Regions from separate parts of the Homo sapiens genome. Here region 2 is linked to region 1. Evidence: promoter capture Hi-C in 16 types of primary human blood cells and fetal thymus (Javierre and others, 2016). All regions are on one chromosome and are shown on one strand. Each heading gives the region's core, a stretch centred on a gene start or on the middle of the fragment in contact. The rest is flanking DNA. Distances are from core to core; before and after follow the strand shown. Region 1 holds the start of TTC14 (tetratricopeptide repeat domain 14). Region 2 overlaps LIPH (lipase H).

Region 1 (5,008 bases), core at 1,160-3,659:
GTATTTTCTTCGTCGCCCACTTGAGAGGCCCCACATGTGGGACTAGTTTTTCTAAAATGAGAAGCAAACCTAGTCCCATTTCCTTTCCTCACTCCCTCCAATCCCATGTCAAAGATCCAGTGCCCTGTCCCCTTCAAAGTCAAAGGGGTGTCTGTCTCAAAAGAAAATGAACTCAAATACACCTGTAATTGTAAAAGGCTTTATCCTCTGCAATGGGAGTAGTATTCCGGAAGTAAAGAATAAGACTGCCTTCGGCACCCAACTAATGTGGCTACTTTCACATAAGGAACTAACCAAAGACAGAAAATCCCACGCTGAGTTTTGAGTACATTTGCTTAAAGTGCATTTCTTCTGTCACTACTATACGAAAAATATCACTCTTGATAAATGCTGTTTACCCCCTAAAAGGAGCTGCTTTCTATGTTCACGGCCATTTCAGATGTTCAAGGTATGAGGTGGGGGAGGGTTATCCTAGTGTTGGAATTAGGAAGAAGTATAGACAGATCCCATAGTGATAAAACCATGTGCTACTGAAGAATGGCCTCAGAAGGTGACATTCCCAGGCTAAGTAACACTATTTGGTGTCTGGTTCTCAGACACCGGTTTCTTAGTCCCTCCAAAAAATGAGGTCCTTGATCACAGATTGACTCTAACACAAATCACATACTTATCAAGATGTCTATAATAATTTTTAGTGGTCAGCTTTCCTTTTCAGTGACAGCACTCTTTCCTAAAAACAACCATTCTCTAGAGTTATGGCTTAAAACAAGTCAGTCTGTACCATTTATTAAAGTTGATATGCCTATAGAAGCTTGAAATTTATTTATTTATTTATTTATTGAGACGGAGTCTCCCTCCGGCGCCCAAGCTGGACTGCCGTGGCGCGATCTCAGTTCATTACAACCCCCGCCTCCGGAGTTCAAGAGATTCTCGTGCCTCAGCCTCCCGAGTAGCTGGGACTACAGGCATGAGCCACCACGCTCGGCTAATTTTTGTATTTTTAGTAGAGACGGGGTTAGGCCATGGTGGCCAAGCTGGTCTCTGAACTCCTGACCTCAAGTGATCCACCCTCGGCCTCCCAAAGTACTGGGATTACAGGTGTGAGCCACCGTGCCTAACCCAAATTTATCTTTTACAGTTGCATTCTTGTTTGTTGCATTTTCTCAAGTCTCAAACTGTTTACCTATTTGCCTGGGTTTTCCACAAAACAGTGTGGCAGTATCGATTATGTTCTGGGCTAGATCTCCTATACAAAAGTGGTAACACAGTGAAAGGCAAGTTGATTTCCTCAAAGACACATGGTGGGAAGTGGAGAGACTAACTGTCACCGTTTATTTCTGTTCAAGAGGACTATACTGAACTATTTACACTGAACATATTTAAATGGTACAAATTTTATACTGGAATAAAACGAAGCTACATGATCTCAAAATTAGGGTTAGTTAGACCTTCCATATGATAAAATACTCAATCCAGCAACTCTGCCTGAGAAGACCAATTAATACTTCGTTTGGAATCCTAACTCTAGCCTCTTACTAGCTGTGTGCCATTGAGCAATTTACTGGGACTCTCTGAGCATGTTTCCTCGTTTTCTAAAATGAAAAAGTACAATAGCTACCATAGTGGTTAGGTTCTCAAGTCAGTAAGTAAGGGGATGGGGGACCTAAGTTGAAATTCCCTTTGAAAATCACTTGAATTGTCCATAAGAACAGTATATTGACTTTTGCGTACATACCACTATACAGTAAGTCCCACAGACACTAAATTTTGAGCAACCATTGAGATAAACTAAATAAGAAATGCATGTGTTCATTAGTTATTGTAAAACTTGAATGGCATATGCACGTGTGGAGACATTAAAGCCATCCTGGTTTTAGAATTCACAATCACTAACAGTAAATGGGGTATGGATGGAGAACACCACTCCAGGTGCTTAACAAATGTCCGTGTCCTTCCTTTCTTCTGCCCTTAAAACCACCTGGAAACCTTCCCGGAGCAGCCGGTTGAATGGGGTTACGCCAGAGACACAGGTATTGATTTACGCAGAGAGTACGTCGAGGGAAGAAGCTTGGAGACTCGTATAGGGTTCTTACCCTGGCACTGGCACTTAGAAGCACCTTGATGAATACGAAAAGGAATTATTATTTACCCTAGGTTACAGCTCGAGCTATTTCGACGTAATAACGATCCCACGTACACTTTAAAAAGCAAACTTCTCACATACATCACTTCCTGGAAGCCCTAGTCAGCCTTTAGCCCAAGCAATGCTGAGCCCAATCCTTCGGCCTTCCGTAGTCTCGCTCGGTTTCGCGAGATCGAGGCTGAGCTCCGCCGCGCCGCCGTGGGGGCGACCCCAGAACACTTCCGGGTGTAACTGGTTGTGCTGTCTGTGTACTTCCGGCAGCCTCCAGACAGTTTCTTCCGCTTCCTGTACCACCCGGCTCAAGTAGCGGACACGGAACAGGGAACTATCAGCCCGTCGGCCTCCGGGCCCTGCATTCTCTAGCCATGGACCGGGACCTTTTGCGGCAGTCGCTAAATTGCCACGGGTCGTCTTTGCTCTCTCTACTTCGGAGCGAACAGCAGGACAATCCACACTTCCGTAGCCTCCTGGGGTCGGCCGCCGAGCCAGCCCGGGGCCCGCCGCCCCAGCACCCGTTGCAGGGCAGGTAATGAGACGTTGGTGCCACTGCGCCACGGAAGAGGGGACGCAGCTCTGGCAGCCACTACCGCAGCCCCGGGTTTGCGTCTAGAGGAAGTGGAGCCGCGGCCGTGAGCACAGGACGATCGCGCGCTGGTGTCTTGGGCTGGGTGGACGGGGGGCGCTCCTGGGTTGTGCAATGCGGGATGCGGGCTGAACTTTTTCTCTGGCACTGCTTGGTAGAGGCGCAGATTCCTTAGCTAAAAATCCCTTGAGCTTTCCTATCTGAGTTGGAGGCGTCACTTTTTAAGTTTCCCCGCTCTCCACCTCCAGGTTGGTTAATGAGGGAATGCCTAGTTAAAACTTTTTGTCTGAGGTTGTATTGTCTGCAGCTTAGGATGGAGCGGAATGGGCGATGAAAGCCATAAGCAGAAGGTTAGAAGTAAAGAGGCTTTGCAGATAACCCAATTTTCATATATATTTTTTTCTTTTTAAGAAAAGAGAAGAGAGTTGACAACATCGAGATACAGAAATTCATCTCCAAAAAAGCGGATCTGCTTTTTGCACTTTCCTGGAAATCAGATGCACCTGCAACTTCTGAAATTAATGAAGACAGTGAAGGTCAGTTTAGCCTTAAAATCTTTAAGATTGCGGTTCGGTTTAACAGTACTTCAGGTGAAACGGAACTCAAAACTATCGTTAGTGATTTTGTTAATTTTTTTTTTTTAGATCATTATGCAATCATGCCACCTTTAGAGCAATTCATGGAGATACCTAGTATGGATCGGAGAGAGCTGTTTTTCCGAGATATTGAGCGTGGTGATATAGTGATTGGAAGAATTAGTTCTATTCGGGAATTCGGTTTTTTCATGGTGTTGATCTGTTTAGGAAGTGGTATCATGAGAGATATAGCCCACTTAGAAATCACAGTAAGTTATTTTTGTTACTTGGATTGCTTCTGTTTTTGTTAACGCATCTCAATGCAAGAACTATATCTTTGCATGCAGTTGTGCTCAAGTATACCTGCCAAGATGCTTTTGGAAATTAAATGTTAATTGGAGAAAAATAGTTTAAAAAAATTAGTGTAAGTTACCCAGTTTCTCCCTCCATTTCTGGTTTTTGGGATTTTTTAAATTTAAACTGGTTGGCAGGCACAGTGTTCTTTTCTAAATGCTCAAAGAGGTATCAGTGGACGTGGTGAGGTTGATTGATATTCAGACTTATTTCTTGTAGTTGAACATATGTATTCTTAATTAGTTAATATTTGGCATTGTATATTTTCATGTGGATAATTTGGAGAGAAGTTTCATTTATATATTTACAATAATTAAATGTAAGTGGTTTGTACATTATATTAAGATACTTTGCCCAAGATGGATAGTCCTGAATTTAAACTAATGTGTCACGATAAAAGATTGGGTATTTGCCATCTATCCAGGCAGATAAAAAGGAAGAAAAGCAGAAGGTATTACAGATTGGATAACAGACAAAATACTTTGGAGAATTGGCATTTCATTTTCACTGGAATCCTTATACCTTTTAGACAAATTTTAGTTTGTTTTTGATGCATGTTGTATACTGTCATAAGCCATCATATTTGGTTCCTAAACTAATGGAAAGTTTCATGAGATTTTAGTTTTTTAACTGAACCAGCAAACATATTTTACTGTGTTTGGACACGGAAATTACTTTTAACTAAATCCTTATTTAAATTTTTACTTTAGGTTGTTCAACTACTAGCTGTTTCATACCAAACAACTAAGATAAAAGAAGACACTGTTCTTATCAAAGCTTGAAATGTCTGGTGTTTTAAAATACTTCTCATTACAGGCTCTTTGTCCCTTAAGAGATGTGCCTTCTCACAGTAACCATGGGGATCCTTTATCATATTACCAAACTGGTGACATCATTCGAGGTGATTAGTTTCATCATACTAATAAAAAAGTAATGATTGTTGAATTTTTGTTTTTATTAATTTAAAAAAATACAGTCTAAGAGGGTAGTGTTTGGGAAAGTTTATATTTTTTATGTTAGTTTACATTTTCTTACTAATCAGCTTAGTTCTCTTTTTTTTTTTCTTAAGCTGGAATCAAGGATATTGACAGATACCATGAAAAGCTAGCAGTATCTCTGTATAGCTCTTCTCTTCCACCACACCTATCTGGTATTAAATTAGGTGTAATTAGCTCTGAAGAGCTTCCTTTATACTACAGGTAATTTATCCGTATTATTTCAACAACAGTTCATTACAAAAGTCTCTTGGATTGAGGAATACCACATTTTTATAACGGTTAAATTACTTCAGACTTGGTAAAAGGAAACCATATCATAATATTGCCACACCATCTTATGCAAAAAATGGAATTA
Region 2 (5,008 bases), core at 1,407-3,906, 4.9 Mb after region 1:
CCCAGCAGGGAAACCTGAGGGTCATGGCAATTGGCCAACACGAGGCGATAAGGGACCTTTGATGGAGCTATTTTTGGTGGTGCTAACCTTCTTTGCTACAGGCTCACAACTGGAGCATCTGCTTGCTTCCTCTGACCTGCCCCCTGGACTCATGTTGTCATTCTTCTCGCTCAACCTGTCTGCCTAGGGAAGAAGCCCTGGACTGTGTTTCCCCAATCTCAGTATTCCCAACCCTCCTGGCCCCCAACCCAGTACCTGCAGAGCTGACTCTAACCACCCAGTGCACCTCCCGCAGGCTGCAGCAGCCCCCATCGAGGCCACTCATTTACAGCACAGGCCCACACAGTCTGACAAAGGACAGCTGCAATCCTCTGTCAACTGCAGTCCTTTCCCAGGCACATGCTGGATTGGGAAACAGGTGGGAGAAAAGAACAGGTAAGACGTTCCTGTGGGAGTGAGTTAGCCTGGCATTTACTGTGCCTCTTTGTGAAGAGCAGCCAACCTTTTCTGGCTTAATCAGACTTGCCTAGAGCACTTGAAAAGAATAGCTCTGAAGTCCATGTGATTTTGCTTCCCCACCCCCACCCCAACCATGACTGATTGGAACTGGATAGATGTCTTCCTCAGGAGGAGGAGCCAAGGGCTGTTTCCTGTCCCTGGACTTTGGAATTGGGCCACCTAGTCAGTGAGTGGCCAAGAACCCAATGAGGCTGCCCCATGAAGGGAGCTGAGCTCAGTCAAAGAGATTCATGGCAGAGCACTAGGGTTAATAAAGGCCCACGAACTCTTGTTGCTGAAGGCTCTAGGGCTGCCCCATCCCTGCCCTTCCTGAGATTTGGTGGATCACCTCTTCCTGGGTTTCCACAAGTCCTCTCTCTCTCTCTCAATAACCTATTAAATTGGGGTGTGAGTGGATTCCTGTCCCTTGCATCCAAAGTCTCCTTGGCTATAATGGAGTTCTATAGGAATGAGAGCAAGGGGCAGGAGCCCAAGGGTAGGAGGTTCTAAGTTTAGGACTTTAGAAATAACATTGTTAAGTGTGTTGATGTCTAAGTCAGAATGGAGGTGATTCCCTCAAGTTTCTAAGCATCATCCATTCCATTCTGTCCAACAGACATTTATCAAGCACCTACTCTGTGCCTAGCATTGTGCTAGGTGCTAGAGAGCCAAAAATAAATAGCAGCTGCTCTTGTGGAGGTCACAGTCTTGGAGGAGTTAAAGACACGGAAACAAATTACAACACAGCGTAACAGCAGTGACAGAAGCACGTATGATATGGTTTGACTGTGGCCCCACCAAATCTCATCCTGAATTGTAGTTCCCATAATCCCCACTTGTGGTGGGAGGGGCCCAGTCGGAGGTAATTGAATCATAAGGGTAGTTTCCCCCATGTTATTCTCGTGATAGTGAGTTCTCATGAGATCTGATGGTTTTATAAGGGGCTTCCCCCTTCACTCAGCTCTCATTCTTCTCTCTCCTGCCACCATGTAAAGAAGGATGTGTTTGGTTTCCCTTCCATCACGATTGTAAGTTTCCTGAGGCCTCCTCAGCCATGTGGAACTGTGAGTCAATTAAATCTCTTTCCTTTATAAATTACCCAGTCTTGGGTATTTCTTCATAGCAGCCTGAGAAGGGACTAATACAACATACGAAGTTGGCAGCAAAGTGAGTGGTGGAAAGGAGAGTCATGGAAAAGCAAACAAGGGAGGGTTATAACTACAGCTTGGCATCCTCCACTAATGTTGTAAGGTCCTGGAGCATTTTGGCAATGGTGCTAAAATGAGGATGTAAGGACAAAATCCCCTAGATTTTCGACAGGTGAGCTTGTGAGGTGTTGGGACCACCTGGAAGATGTGATAAGAAGTGACAAAGGGGCAGGGTGTAGTGGCTCACACCTATAATCCCAGCACTTTGGGAGGCCAAGGCAGGCAGATCTCCGGAGTTCAGGAGTTTGAGACCAGCCTGGCCAACATGGTGAAACCCTGTCTCTACTAAAAATACAAAAATTAGCTGGGCATGGTGGCATGTGCCTGCAAGCCCAGCTACTCGGGAGGCTGAGGCAGAATAGCTTGAACCCATGAGGTGGAGGTTGCAGTGAACTGAGATCAGGTCACTGCACTCCAGCTGGGCAACAGAGCAAGACTCCATCTCAAAAAAAAAAAAAAGTGACAAAGGAGCCAACTTCTCTCTTTTCCAGGAAGTCTGGGAAATGGGCTATTGGCCTCCAAAGATAATGGAGACAATAGTAATGAAGGTGTCTGGGAGAAAAGTCTAAGGCACAGAAGGTTAGGCACCCTCATGGAAACAGACTATGGCTAGGGTGGAGGGCAAGTCTTTACTCACAACTGAACATGGTTCCATGGGGCTCAGAAAATAACAAAGAGTGTTCATTTAATAAATGTTTCCTGAAAGCAGACTATATGGTAAGCACATGGCTCCTGCCTTGCAGAGCAGTCTAGTGGAGAAGACAGATATTTATCAAATAATCAGGCAAATAAAATAAAAAAAACAGGCTGGGTGCGGTGGCTCACGCCTGTAATCCCAGCACTTTGGGAGACCGAAGCAGGCAGATCACTTGAGGTCAGGAGTTTGACATCAGCCTGGCCAATATGGTGAAACCCCGTCTCTACTAAAAATACAAAAATTAGCTGGGCATGGTGGCACTGGCCTGTAGTTCCACCTACTTGGGAGGCTGAGGCATGAGAAACATTGGAACCCAGGAGGCAGAGGTTACAGTGAGCCAGGATTGCACCACTGCACTCCAGCCTAGGTGACAGAGTGAGATTCCGTCTCAAAAAAAAGAAAAAATGTTTAAAAATACAACTAAAAAGTGCTATGAAGGAGAGGTACAGTGTGGAACCTCTCTGTATGGAAATAAGGTCCAAGAAGACTCCCTGAGGAGGTGGCAATTGAGCCACGATCCAAATGATGAGTAGGAGGTCACCAGTGAAGAGGGGAGGGAAGAGGGTAGACTGTAATTTAATTGTGCTTTGAATTTGGCACTCAGACAGATATATGGTACTGAGAAAGAGAGGGGAAGAGAAGCAAGGATAACAAGAGACAGTCAAAAGTTCCAGGGGCCCTTGGAAGAAAGATTCTGAGAACAGAGTGGCCACAGTTATAACTGCCTTTATTTCTCCTGATCACTGTTACATGAAACTTACTGAAATTCATCTCCTCTCCGGTGAACAAACTTCCTTTCTTTATCCATTCATTCACCCATCTACCCATCCTACAGTGAGCCAGGTACTGAGAGCTAGGAGACCCACGAGCCTAGAGTTTACAAAGTAGTAGAAATTCTATTTCTGGCATTTTCTTGCTATTGTTTTGACTCCCTGCTTACCAGGAAAGAGAACAAAAAAGTGACTGTGCTGATCAAAACACAGACCAATAAAACTAAGAAGAAACCAGGGCTGCCGGGTACGATGGCTCACACCTGTAATCCCAGAACTTTGAGAGGCCAAGGCCAGTGGATCACAAGGTCAGGAGTTCAAGGCCAAGATGGTGAAACCAGGTCTCTACTAAAAATACAAAAATTAGCCAGGCATGGTGGGGGCGCCTGTAATCCCAGCTACTTGGGAGGCTGAGGCAGAGAATTGCTTGAACCCGGGAGGCAGAGGTTGCAGTGAGCCAAGATCGTGCCACTGCACTCCAGCCTGGGTAACAGAAGGAGACTCCATCTAAAAAAAAAAAAAAAAAAAAAAAAAAAAAACCAGGGCCTACAGCACACTGATCTCTCTATCCACAATTGCTGAGGAAATGTGAGAAGGAGGAGGAAGGATGGTAACATGTCCAAGAGCTTGTTCCACTCAGAGTTCAGTCATCCCTCACTTAAATAAAACAGACTCTGTATTTGCTGCAAATGTAAATCTGTAAGAAGATGTGCCACACAGGAATACATTTATAGATTTCTTTAATTTATGACATAGAGAATCCATTTTTGGCCGGGTGTGGTGGCTCATGCCTGTAATCCCAGCACTTTGGGAGGCCGAGACGGGTAGTCACCTGAGGACAGGAGTTCGAGACGAGCCTGGCTAACGTGGTGAAACCCTGTCTCTAATAAAAATACAAAAATTAGCCGGGTGTGGTGGCACATGCCTGTAATCCCAGCTACTCAGGAGGCTGAGGCAGGAGAATCAATTGAACCTGGGAGGTGGAGGTTGCAGTGAGCTGAGATCGTACCATTGCACTCCAGCCTAGGCAACTCCAAAAAAAAAAAAAGAGAGAGAGAGTCAATTTCTTCATAACAAAGGCTATTTTCACAGATAGCAGTTGAAGGAGCAATCACTTGGGTGAAGAGGAGGTGACTGGGCCTGTCACCTCCTTTTCACAGACCTTCCTGCAGTGGCCACAGCCATGGGACAGATCATGCCTCCCCTCACACTGGGCATCTGGCCCCAGGGATTGTCCTCCCTTCTTTCTGGCCTTGGCCTGACAGGACCTCTTGACTGGACTCCTGCTGTCATTCTAGATTTGCAGACAGCATCTACCTCCAGGGAAGCAAAGGATTCCTCAAACTGGAGTCTTCAGATTCTCCAAAAGCAAACCGGTTCATGTTTTGAATTCACGTGTTGGCAAAATAGGTGACAGCCTTGTTCCAAAAGGCTAACATTAATTACCTCTAATAGGATCGTGGACAGTATTTTTTTTTAATTTTGTATCTACGCATTTTCTAAATTTCCTTCAATAATCATAGATTACATTGGTAATAAAGAAACATAAACATTTCTTAAGGGTTGCTTAAAATGAGCGTTGCCTGTAAAGTGATCCTTCTCCACCTTAGGTGAAAAATAAGCTCTGCTTTTCCTTCCCTTGCCTCATGCTCCATCCCCTGTCCCCATGTGAAGAGGCTGCCCCACGGCTTCCTCGTCCTTCTTTCTTCATCCACTATCTAGTCCCAGCAGCCGCCCTCTTAGCTGTCAGTCCATCCCCATCTCCTCCAGCTCCTCCATGCTCCAACAGCACTTTAGAGAAGGCAGAGGGCCAGCACGTGGCTTTCTTGCCTTCC

The links. Contacts are between HindIII fragments. The CHiCAGO score rates a contact against its expected background, and 5 or more counts as called.
Region 2: a fragment that was not itself captured here is called in contact with the fragment with the promoter of TTC14 in region 1 in 1 of 17 cell types (naive CD8 T cells); the score reaches 7.3 in naive CD8 T cells.

Annotation. Positions count from the first base shown.
Region 1 is chr3:180,599,754-180,604,761 of GRCh38, forward strand. TTC14 (tetratricopeptide repeat domain 14) reads left to right here and starts at 2,410. Exons shown (of 12, transcript NM_133462.4): 1 at 2,410-2,669; 2 at 3,138-3,262; 3 at 3,371-3,570; 4 at 4,472-4,556; 5 at 4,725-4,854. The coding sequence starts at 2,509. TTC14-DT (TTC14 divergent transcript) reads right to left here and starts at 2,360. Exons shown (of 3, transcript NR_183700.1): 1 at 2,150-2,360. RefSeq lists an enhancer at 2,201-2,490. The HindIII fragment of the contact is 2,365 bases long and covers 2,066-4,430 here.
Region 2 is chr3:185,503,149-185,508,156 of GRCh38, forward strand. It overlaps LIPH (lipase H), which reads right to left. Exons shown (of 10, transcript NM_139248.3): 10 at 3,114-5,008. It overlaps TMEM41A-DT (TMEM41A divergent transcript), which reads left to right. Exons shown (of 3, transcript XR_924792.3): 2 at 296-435; 3 at 1,115-1,596. Among named protein-coding and RNA genes, the nearest start is that of TMEM41A-DT, 6.5 kb to the left of the region's middle. The HindIII fragment of the contact is 5,838 bases long and covers 1-5,008 here.